Regions from separate parts of the Homo sapiens genome. Here all the other regions are linked to region 3. Evidence: promoter capture Hi-C in human tissues and cell types (Jung and others, 2019). All regions are on one chromosome and are shown on one strand. The core of a region is centred on a gene start or on the middle of the fragment in contact, and the rest is flanking DNA. Distances in the headings are between cores, read along the strand shown.

Region 1 (3,663 bases), core at 225-2,724, 780 kb after region 3:
TAAATGTTGGGGCGTCCTCAGGGTTTAGTACTTGAATGTTTTCTCTGTCTAGACTATTCCTTAGGTGATCCCATCCAGCTTTATGAGTTTACATGTTATCTATATAGTGAGCTCTCAAATTTAGGTCTTCAGCCTAGACATTTCCCTCAACTGCAGACTTGTATACCAACTGCATTCTATCAGCATTTCAACTTGGATGTCTAATAAATATCAAATGTAGTATGTACATAATGAATGCATTTCCCACCAAAACCTGCTTCTTCTATAGCTTCCCCATTTCAATAAATGTCAATTATAGCCTCCAGTTGCACAGATCAAAACCTCTGAGTCATTCCTTTGTAATGTAAACTTTATTGAGGCATAACACTGATACAGGAAAGTGCTCAAATTATAAATGTACAACTTAGTGAATGTTCACAAAGTGAGCCTATTGATATAGCCAGCATCCAGATTAAGAAACAGGGCAGGCCAGGTGCGGTGGCTCATGCCTGTAATCCCAGCACTCTGGGAGGCTGAGGCAGGCAGATCACGAGGTCAAGAGATCAAGACCATCCTGGCCAACACAGTGAAACCCCGTCTCTACTAAAAGTACAAAAATTAGCTGGGCGTGGTGGCATGCGCCTGTAGGCCCAACTACTCGGGGGGCTGTGGCAGGAGAATGGCTTGAACCTGGGAGGTGGAGGTTGCAGTGAGCCGAGATTGCGCCACTACACTCCAGCCTGGTGACAGAGCGAGACTCCATCTTAAAAAAAAAAAAAAAAGAAAGAAAGAAACAGGGCATTGCCTCAGAAGCCCTCATGTCTCCCTTCTAATCATTAGCTTCCCAAATGTAACCAATATCCTGGCTTCTAACACCACAGGTTAGTTCTGTGTGTCTTTGAAATTTATATAAATGTAATCATATAGTTTATACTTTTTTGTGTTTGGCTTCTTTTGATCAATATTATATTTGTGACATTCACTTATATTAAGACTTGTAGTTTAAGTTTTTCTACTCTCGTTGTATATTCCATTATGTAAATATAGTATAATTTGTTTCATTATTCTATTCTTGATGGTGTTTGGGTACTTTTTAGTTGGGGATATTACAAAGAATACTGCTATTGACAGAGCAGGAGCACTGTCATCTCGAACAAACACTGCCACTTTAAGTTCCAGCTCCCTTTCTAGCCTCGTGCATTTCAAGGAAATCACTCTCTTCTAAGTACAAATAGAAAGAGCAGACAGTAAAACATAGATAAGACAGCTTGGGTACAGAGGGAGGTGGGGGGAAAGTCTCCTGGGTAACTGCCAAACTTCACCCTCATACGATGGCTCCCAGTAAAACAGTAGGCCCTAATAAGCACATTCCTTTCCCTTCAGGTGCACTAAGATAGGGAAGCTAAAAGCAACCCGGGGGATATGCCTGCAGCTGCAGAAAGATGTATGGGAACAGACACACAACTTTCCCTCCCAGATAAGCACAACAAAGAAACACAGAAGCAGTCCAAGCCTCTGATAAATTCTCCCACCCTGAATCCTTAAAAACACTTAGTCTGTAAGAGAGTGTGGCTCTGACCTAACTTGGCCAGCTGCCCCACTCAAGTTTATTCAGAATAAACCTGTCCCTGTTGACTGTCGAGCCGCCCTTCGTGTTTCTCTCTTCTTTCTTTAATTCTTACAGCTATGACTAATCTTGTATATGTCTTTCAGTGAACATAGGTAAACGTTTCTGTTAGGCATATGCCTAGGAGGCAGATGTTCAACTTTAGTAGATACTGCGGTTTTCTAAACAGTGGTTGTTTCATATCAATTTACCTTACCAACAGCAGTGTAGGAAAGTTCTAATTGGCCTGTATCCTTGCCAATACTGTCTTTTCTTTCCTTCCTTGTTTGTCTTTTTCTTTCTGACTATTCTGATGGGTAATGGGTAAGTAGTGGTATCACCCTTGTCCTTGCCACCATCATTTTTCACCCATATTATTGCCTCCTAACAGGAATGTATGAGTATCCTTGGAGGTCCCTGAGTATTTCTTTGCCTTTTAAACTTTGTTTCCCCCCATGGTAGCCATAGTGATGCTTTTCAAATGCAAGTCAAATCACGTCAGTCCTCTTCTCGAAAGCCTCCAATGCCTTTCCATCTCACTCAGAACAAATAGCAAAGTACAGATAATTGGCTTATTAGGCCCTCGGTTATTTGCCTCCTGCTCTTTCTCTTCTCTTTGCCTGTACCACTTCAGATAAACTGGCCTCCTTGTTCATGAAATAAACCAAGCTTACTCCTCAGAGCTTTTGCACTTGTTCGGTCTATCTAAATTGGCTTGTTCTTCCCCTGGCCACTCTTGCACTTCCTTCATATCTCTGCTCAACTGTCATCTTATTCCAGAGGCCTGCCCTGATTATGCTGTCTAAAACAGCAACTCAGTTATTCTCCCTTCGACCTTCCTTATTTTTCTACCTATTTCCTACTAATTATCTCTGACATTAAAAAAAAATTATTTGTTTAGGGTCTGTCCCTCCCAGTAAACTGTAGCTTCTAAGACAGACTTTGTTTTTGTTCTCTGCTATATTGCTCTATTCCCACGTCCTAAAACAGCGTCTGAACCATAGAAGTCACTCAATAATTTTCTTTTTCTTATTTAGTAATTCTAGTGACCCGACTCAATAAATTTTTTTAAATAAATGCATGAGAAATTGACAAATTGTAACAAGTCCAGAAGAACAATAGCAGGTTACTGAACTGCCACATCAAATAAGGAACCCTTGAAGAAAGTAAGATGTTTAATCTGGAGAAGAAAAGATTGCTGGGCACGGTGGTTCACAGCCTGTAATCCCAGCACTTTGGGATGCTGAGGTAGGTGGATCATGAGGTCAAGAGATCGAGACCATCCTGGCCAACATGGTGAAACCCTGTCTCTACTAAAAATATGAAAATTAGCTGGGCCTGGTGGTACGTGCCTGTAGTCCCAACTACTCAGGAGGCTGAGGCAGGAGAATCACTTTAACTGAGGAGGCAGACATTGCAGTGGGCCGAGATCACACCACTGCACTCCAGCCTGGCGACGGAGCGAGACTCTGTCTCAAAAAAAGAAGAAAAGATTTAGGAGAACAGGACCATCATCTTTGAACATATGTAGGACGGTCACATGCGGTTTTAGAGGTCAGAAGTTGGACTTGACATGCCAAATACTTCCAGTAACAGGGAGTTCACTACTCTGTGAAACAGCCAGTTCCATTATTGAATTGCTGGGTCAGAAAGTTACATTAAACTAACATTTATTTCTCTCTGACTTCCTCTCATTCATTAATCTGTTCCCTGGAATTCCACAAACCAAATCTAATCTCCTCTTCACTTGCATTTGGATGAAATAAAACACCATGTTTAAGGAAATAAGAAAAACTACAGGGCTTTTGTTTTGCTGAGAAAAATAAACATACTGAAAAATGAAAGGCTTAATAAAATAATGGGTTTTGTTTTTTGTTTGGGTGGGAAAAGGGGGCAAGGTTGTGAGAGGAAAGAGAAGGAAGAGAGATAAGTTCGTTGATGTTGAGAGAGATCAAGCTTAAGAAAAAGAACAGAAATGTCTAAGAATTGATTAAGCTTCTGCTGTGTGGGGTATGGTACAGCCAGGATCCCCATGAAGTAATCAGTACAATATCCCTGCATTGCGAGTTGGATCTATT
Region 2 (3,641 bases), core at 1,036-3,535, 520 kb after region 3:
CCAGGAGGTCGAGGCTGCAATGAGCCGTGATGGCCCTACTGCACTCTAGCCTGGGTGACAGGAGTAAGACCCTGTCTCGAAAAAAAAAAAAAAAGGAAAAAAAAACAGAAAAAAAACGCATTCTGCAAACTGCATGGAGCATTTGAGACGTACAAACAGGTGTTCCTACCTATCACCTGGCTTGGGGCCCAAGAGTCCTATAAAGACTTAAACCAGACAATTCAAGTCTGATCATGTTCAGACCTGTCTGATGAACCAGACTGGGGAGTTCTCAAAGGAGGCTGGATTGGAGGGAAAGGCAATGGATGAGTTGAAAGAAAATCAACCCTGGTCCCTGCCAGGTGAGGGGAACGGTTTCTTCCTTTATATCCTAAATTCCATCTCTAGAAATATGCCTTGTACTCAAACCCTCTCTGAGGGCTATAATATGGATCTTTCCTACACCCAGCCTTGCTCATTATTTATACATATTCCTCCTAGCCCATGCCAAGAGGCCGTCTGGACTAACTGAATTAAAAAATATATATATATATGTATGTGAAATTTCAAAATGAGGTGCTAAATCACTACATATATATTTGTGTATATATATATATATATATATATATATATTTTTTTTTTTTTTTTTTTTTTTCTGTTAGTCTAAAATCTGTTTGAAAGTTCCTAAATCCCTTATCCCAATATAAAGGGGTCTGCAGGTGGAGGATAGATAATTTGTGTGGAGATATTTCTGGCTATGAGTCCCCATTCCTCCTTGGGGAAGATTAAGAGGACATTACTTTTAACCGCTCAAACCAAGTGACTAGGAGAGGGGGCTTCCATGAGAATCTGAGATGCAGAATCCATACCATTGCACTTAGGGAGTATCGTGACCAGGATATGCTTCCTGCCTGTGAACTCTAGCAAGAAGAGACAAGCCTGCTGACTATTAGGTCCTGTTCAGTAGGGCTTCCTGGAGGTATAAAGGGACCCCAGGAACAAGAAGCTAGACAAATGGCCATTAATAGATGCCTTTGCTAAGGGAACTGCAGGAGAGGGGCCAGTAGGGAACCCCTGAAGAGTGTATAAAAGCACCCCATGATGCTTTGATGATGGATAGAGATGGCTATAAACATCTGCGAGGCCCAGAAAGCACTAAGCCAGCTATTACACTGGTTCAAAGAAGACTTTTCCCACCCCCATCTTCCTCTCCATGTTAACATGGAGACATGTTGAGTGACTAAAGTGAGCTGAGGATGACAGAGAGGGAAAAATAGAGGGAAAAAAAGTCAACCACTTTCCTCTTTCTTTCTCACTGCAAGGTAACAGTCTGGAGCACCAAAACGATAGTCTCTTGCTGCTGTTCCTCTGAGTCCATTCTTTTTTTTTTTTTTTACAGAGTCTCACTTTGTAGCCCAGGCTGGAGTGCAGTGGCACGATCTTGGCTCATTGCAACCTCCGCCTCCTGGGTTCAAGTGATCCTCGTGCCTCAGCCTCCTGAGAAGCTGGGATTACAGGCGCCCACCACCACCACACCCAGCTTTTTTTTTTTTTTTCAGTAGAGATGGGGTTTCACCATGTTAGCGAGGCTGGTCTTGAATTCCTGACCTCAAGTGATCCGCCCACCTCGGCTTCCCAAAGTGCTGGGATTACAGGCGTGAGCCGCGACGCCCGGCCCATTCTCTCTCTCTCTCTTTTTTTTTTTTTAAGAGACAGGGTTTTGCTCTTTCACTCAGGTTGGAGTGCAGTGATTTGATCATAGCTCACTGCAGCTTCAATCTCCTGGGCTCAAGCGATCCTCCTGGCTCAGCCTCCCGAGTAGCTAAGACTATAGGCCTGTGCCACCAGTCCTGGCTAATTTGTTTAAAAATTTTTTTGTAGAGATGGGGACTCACTGTGTTGTCCAGGTTGGTCTTGAATTCCTGGCATCAAGCAATGTTCCTACTTTAGCCTCCCAAAGTGCTGGGATTATAGGCTTGAGCTGCCGCGCTGAAGTTCCATTCATTCATTATTTTTAAAATATTGATTGAGCACCTACTGTGTGCCAAAAGTTGAGTTATGCACTGGGAGGGACCCAAAGAACAATAATAAATGAACTCTGTCCAGAGCCTCTGTTCACAAACTCACATGGCAGGCAAGCAAGTAAAGAAATAGTTCACACACACACAGTGTAGTAAATTCTATAAAGAGGGAGCAGCTGGCTACACAGCATCAGGCCACTATGACTTGTTTGTGAAGGATAAAAACGCTAAAATTAGCCAGGTGTGGTGGTGCACTACTGTAGTCCCAACTATTCTGGAGGCTGAGGTAGGAAGGATCGCTTGAGCCCAGGAGGTTGAGGCTGCAGTGAGCTGTGTTCAAGCCACTGCACTCCAACCTGGGCAACACAGCAAGACCCTGTCTCAAAAAAAAAAAATGCTAAGCAGACAAGCCAGGCATGGTGGCATGTGGCTGTAGTCCCACCCACTCAAGAGGCTGAGTCAGAAGAACCTCTTGAGCTTAGGAGTTTGAGACCAGCCTGGGCAGCATAGCAAGACCCCATCTCAAAAAAAAATGCTAAGCAAAGTGGCAGGGGTGGGGTGGTGGCGGGGATTCCAAGCAGCATGTGCAAAGGCACAGCAGCATGCTAGAGCATGGGATGTGTTAGGAATGCCGGACACTCCTCTTGCTGATGCCACCATCTGGTTGAATTGTGTCAATCTCCCTAGTTGGATTCCCTTTGTCAGCTGGATATTTTCTCCCTGGTCCTGACCCCGCCTCAGTAGGCAGTTCTTATTCCAGTCCTAGCCCCCTCTCACTCACTAAGTCAGGCTCGAAGTGACCAGCGTACCCAAGCTTGAGATTCTTGAAGTGGATGACATCTTTTCACTATCACTCAGGGCTTGGGCAATAAAGGATGTCCAGTCACAGTTCCCACAGGACCAGGTCCTCTCCTTCCTCAAAAATGGGCCCTTGGTCAGGCCTGATGGCTCATGCCTGTAATCCCAGCACTTTGGGAGGTGGAGGCAAGTGGATCGCTTGAAGCCAGAAGTTTGAGACCAGCCTGGCCAACATGGCGAAACCCTGTCTCTACTAAAAATACACAAATTAGCCGGGCCTGGTGTCGTGCACCTGTGATCCCAGCTGCTCGGAAGGCTGAGGCACAAGAATCGCTTGAACCTGTGAGGAGGAGGTTACAGTGAGCCAAGATTGCTCCACTGCACTCCAGCCTGGGTGACAGAGTGAGACAAAAAAAAAAAAAAAAAAAAAGTCGGGGGGGCCCTTAACTATATATATATATATATTTTTTTTTTTTTTTTTGAAAAAAACAAAAAGTCCCGTAGCCAGGACTACAGATGTGCACCACCGCGTCCAGCTTGCCTTATGTTCTTGAGCAACCCTCTTTCCCTTTCTGAGCCTCAAATTCCTCAGCTGCAATATGGGGATAACAGTACTTACCAGCTAGGGTTCTTATACACAAAGTGGGAATTAGAATTAGATGGAGGGAAGGAGGAGTGGAGGAGTCCAGCAAGGATCTGAGATTTCTGAGCTCAAGAATGACAACAAGGTTTCCAGTGATTAGAGAGGTTTCCTGTGATTAGAGAGATTGGGGTGTGAGGGGAGAGGGGAACTTTCTCTTTTAACTTTATAAACTTTGGTATTATTTGAATATTTTTACAATG
Region 3 (3,632 bases), core at 733-3,232:
AACAAAAATTAGCCGGGCGTGGTGGTGGGCGCCTGTAATCCCAGCTACTCAGGAGGCTGAGGCACCAGGAGCACTTGAACCTGGGAGGTGGAGGTTGCAGTGAGCTGAAATTGCGCCACTGCACTCCAGCCTGGGCAACAGAGTGAGACTCTGTCTCAAAAAAATAAATAAAAACAAACAAAGGAAAAAAGAGAATGTTCTTTTTAAAGTGTATCATAAACAAAGTGAGACAACGAACTACAGACTGGAAAAATATACTTACTATGCATATAATCAACAAAGGATTACGATCCAAAATTTATTTTTTGTAATCCTACAAATCAAAAGAAAAATACAAATAACCCAATAGCAAAATGAGCAAAGGTAATTCAAAGGGAAAGTTCAAATTACCTATAAATTGTGAAAATATTGTTTTTATTCATTTGTATTTATATTTACATTGTTTGTAAAGAGGGGGTTTCACTTTGTTGCCCAGGCTGGTTTCCAACTCTGGCTTCAAGTGATCCTTCCACCTCAGCCTCCCAAAGTGCTGGGATTACAGGCATGAGCCTTCATGCCCCAGCCAAATTGTGAAACCATTTTTAACATTGCTAGAAATAATGGAAATGGAAATTAAAGTAATAACATGATACTATTTTGCACTTATCACTGGGAACTGGGAAACATGGTACAACCATGTTGAAGAGCAATTTGGCAACATTATATAAAGTTGAGGATGTGTGTACTTCACAATGGAAGAATTGTATGTACTTTATATGTCCTCTTCAGAGAAACATACATGTACAAGGGGATAGCCATGAGGGTAATCATGGCAACATTGTGTGTAACAGTGAATGGCTGAAAACAAATGTTCATTAGTAGGGATCGAAGGGATCAATACATTATGGTTCAGTCACAGGATTGAACACAGCACTAAGTCTGTGTGTGTCAATGTGGATAAAGCTGAAATGATTTTGAGTGGGAAAAAAGAACTATGATGCTATTTATGGTATCATTTTTAAACAGTGTGCCACATACTATATATTGTTTATGGATACATACACATGTGATAATATATAAAAATATAAACAGGAAGGGTGACACCAACTTCAGGAAAGTGGTTACTATTAAAGAGAAATAAAGGGGCATGGGATGGTAAAGAGCTTTCCCTACACCTGTAATGTTCTATTTCTTAAAAATTAGATATCTATGGAAATATGGGGAAAGGTACTTTATGAATAAAATTAATACTTACTGAGTACAATTTACTATTGTCAGGCATTATCCAAAGCACTATTCTGATATGTAAATCATTTAATCAGTAAATTTATGCAGTAGGTACTAGTATTATCATCTCACTTTACAGAGGAGAAAATAAAGGCACAGCAAACCAAGCAACTTGCCTGGGGTCACATGACTAATAGGTGATAGGGATTTAAACCTAGGTAGTCTGGCTCCAGAGTTCACAAGCTTAACCTATGACTCAATGTTGCTACCCTGACTCTATCCTCCCTCGTTCTCTCTGGATCTCATAATAGCAGGAAGAGTGGGTACAGAACAGGACTCAGTGGCTCTGAGTGTGGCTTATGGCTTGCCCAGTGTGGGGGGCTGGTAGGCTACAGGGCAGGGGTCCCTCCTTTGTGCCATGCTGTGACTCCAAAAGGTACAGGATGGCCACCATTCATCCAAGACCCCTCCTACACCTGCATCGACCTTCCTCAAAACACCTGTCTGTTCAGTCTTCTGCTCTTCCCTCCCAGGGCCCTTGCCCCTCCTCACCAGTTCCTTCTTCAGGAGCTGCCAGGCATAAGTTACCATATGTCTCCTCATGGTTCCTGTGCAGGCAAATGGCACAACTAGCCCCTTTGCCTTTCAAGGGGAGGACTACAAATTTTTCCCCAAAAATCCAGTAATACTAGAAACAAATAGATTTCCTCAGTAACAAGGCAAGAGCTCCACTCCACTCCTCCTACCATACCATCAGCTACTGGAAGCCCTGCTCTGAGAAAAATCATTCTCAGAATCTCCTAAGGTCACAATGAAAGATTCTGGAGGCAGGGGACACAGGGATTGGAATGTGGGAGTCTAACATTTATGGGATACTCACAGGCATTATCTCAGCTAATCCTCACAACCACCCAAACTTTTACTCAACTCCATACATAGGAGACTGGGGCTCAAAGTAGCTAAATGGCTGCCAGAGTCCTGGTGAGACAGGAGAATGGCACAACCCTGCTGACCAAAACAGGATCTAGGACCCCCTAGCTGTCCCCATCCCTCATTAACATAAGACACTCCTACCAGTGCCATGACAGTGTACAAATGTCTTGGCAATGACCAGGAAGTTGCTACCTCTTTCCTAGAAAACTCTAAAAACCCACTCCTTAATTTGCATTAACCTGCCCCTTAATTTGCATTAGCCTGCCCCTTAATTTGCATGTGATTGAAAGTGGGTAGGAATGCGTATACTACACTTGATCTCAGCCAAAAGGCTGAGAAGGGATTAGAGATGAGCATAAATACAGTTGCCAACATCTCATACACTGGGTATCGACTCCGGATTCATTGCCCATGAGTTAGCCCTGCCCCACAAGGAGAAGCACTATTCAATAAAAGATTGCTGTCTAACACCACTGGCTCACCCTTGAATTCCTTCCTTGGGCAAAGCCAAGAACTCTCCTAAGCTAAGTCTCAATTTGGGGGCTCACCTGTCCTGCAAAGATAGGGCTTTTTTGTTTTTTGAGACACTGTCTCACTTTGTTCCCAGGATGGAGTGCAGTGGCCCAATCTCAGCTCACTGCAACCTCTGCCTCCCAAATTCAAGTGATTCTCCTGCCTCAGCCGCCCAAGTAGCTAGGATTACAGGCGTGTGCCACCATGCCCGGCTGATTTTTGTATTTTTAGTAAAGACAGGCTTTCACCACGTTGCCCAGGCTGGTCTCAAGCTCCTGACCTCAAGTGATCCACCCACCTCAGCCTCCCAAAGTGCCGGGATTACAGGCATAAACCACCACTCCTGGCCAGGGCCTTTTTTTTTTTTTTTTTTTTAAGAAAGCAGTGTAGCTAAATGTCAGGTACACTTGCTCTCCATTTGTAGCATCCAATTAACAGAAGCAAGGTCTGGTCCAGCCTGGCCAATGTGGTGAAACCCCATCCCTACTAAAAATACAAAAAAATTAGCCGGGTGAGGTGGTGGGCACCTATAATCCCAGCTACTCGGGAGGCTGAGGTGGGAGGATCACTTGAACCCGGGAGGCAGAGGTTGCAGTCAGCCAAGATTGTGCCACTGCACTCCAGCCTGAACGACAGAGCAAGACTCTGTCTCAAAAAAAAAAAAAAAAAAAAAAAAAAAAGCGGGAGGGGGAATTGGCATAAATGGCATGCAGAGGAGGGAATGAGCAGGTGGGAGTCTCCATGACTCACTTTGGTGCCTTATCTACCGCCTGGTCGAGCTGCCACCATCTTGGGCAGAACTAGGTTGTAAAGTGGCCTTGTCTCGAGATACTCTCCAGGTGGGGCAGAGTTTCCTGGCAGGCATACTTTTGGTTGTAAATTGACTATTGTCTCTCAAGGCAATCTGGTGGGAGAGGTTTCTACTCTGGAGCTTTTAAGTAAGCACACAGATACACTTGCTCTAGGAGTGTCTGGTGAAG

Evidence for each region. The method cuts DNA at HindIII sites, captures the fragments that hold promoters and counts their contacts. A contact is called where the count stands out against the background at its distance.
Region 1: a fragment that was not itself captured here is called in contact with the fragment with the promoter of CNBD2 in region 3 in 1 of the 25 tissues and cell types used here (dorsolateral prefrontal cortex).
Region 2: a contact is called between a fragment that was not itself captured here and the fragment with the promoter of CNBD2 in region 3, in 1 of the 25 tissues and cell types used here (lymphoblastoid cells).

Annotation. Positions count from the first base shown.
Region 1 is chr20:35,190,277-35,193,939 of GRCh38, reverse strand. The region is part of intron 4 of MMP24-AS1-EDEM2 (MMP24-AS1-EDEM2 readthrough); the gene reads left to right. It also overlaps a transcript of PROCR not described here. Among named protein-coding and RNA genes, the nearest start is that of PROCR, 20 kb to the right of the region's middle. The HindIII fragment of the contact is 4,534 bases long and covers 1-3,663 here.
Region 2 is chr20:35,448,036-35,451,676 of GRCh38, reverse strand. It overlaps a transcript of GDF5 not described here. Among named protein-coding and RNA genes, the nearest start is that of MIR1289-1, 4.2 kb to the left of the region's middle. The HindIII fragment of the contact is 8,774 bases long and covers 1-3,641 here.
Region 3 is chr20:35,966,940-35,970,571 of GRCh38, reverse strand. CNBD2 (cyclic nucleotide binding domain containing 2) reads right to left here and starts at 1,982. Exons shown (of 12, transcript NM_001365709.1): 1 at 1,759-1,982. The coding sequence starts at 1,809. It also overlaps the pseudogene LOC124904982. The HindIII fragment of the contact is 12,223 bases long and covers 1-3,632 here.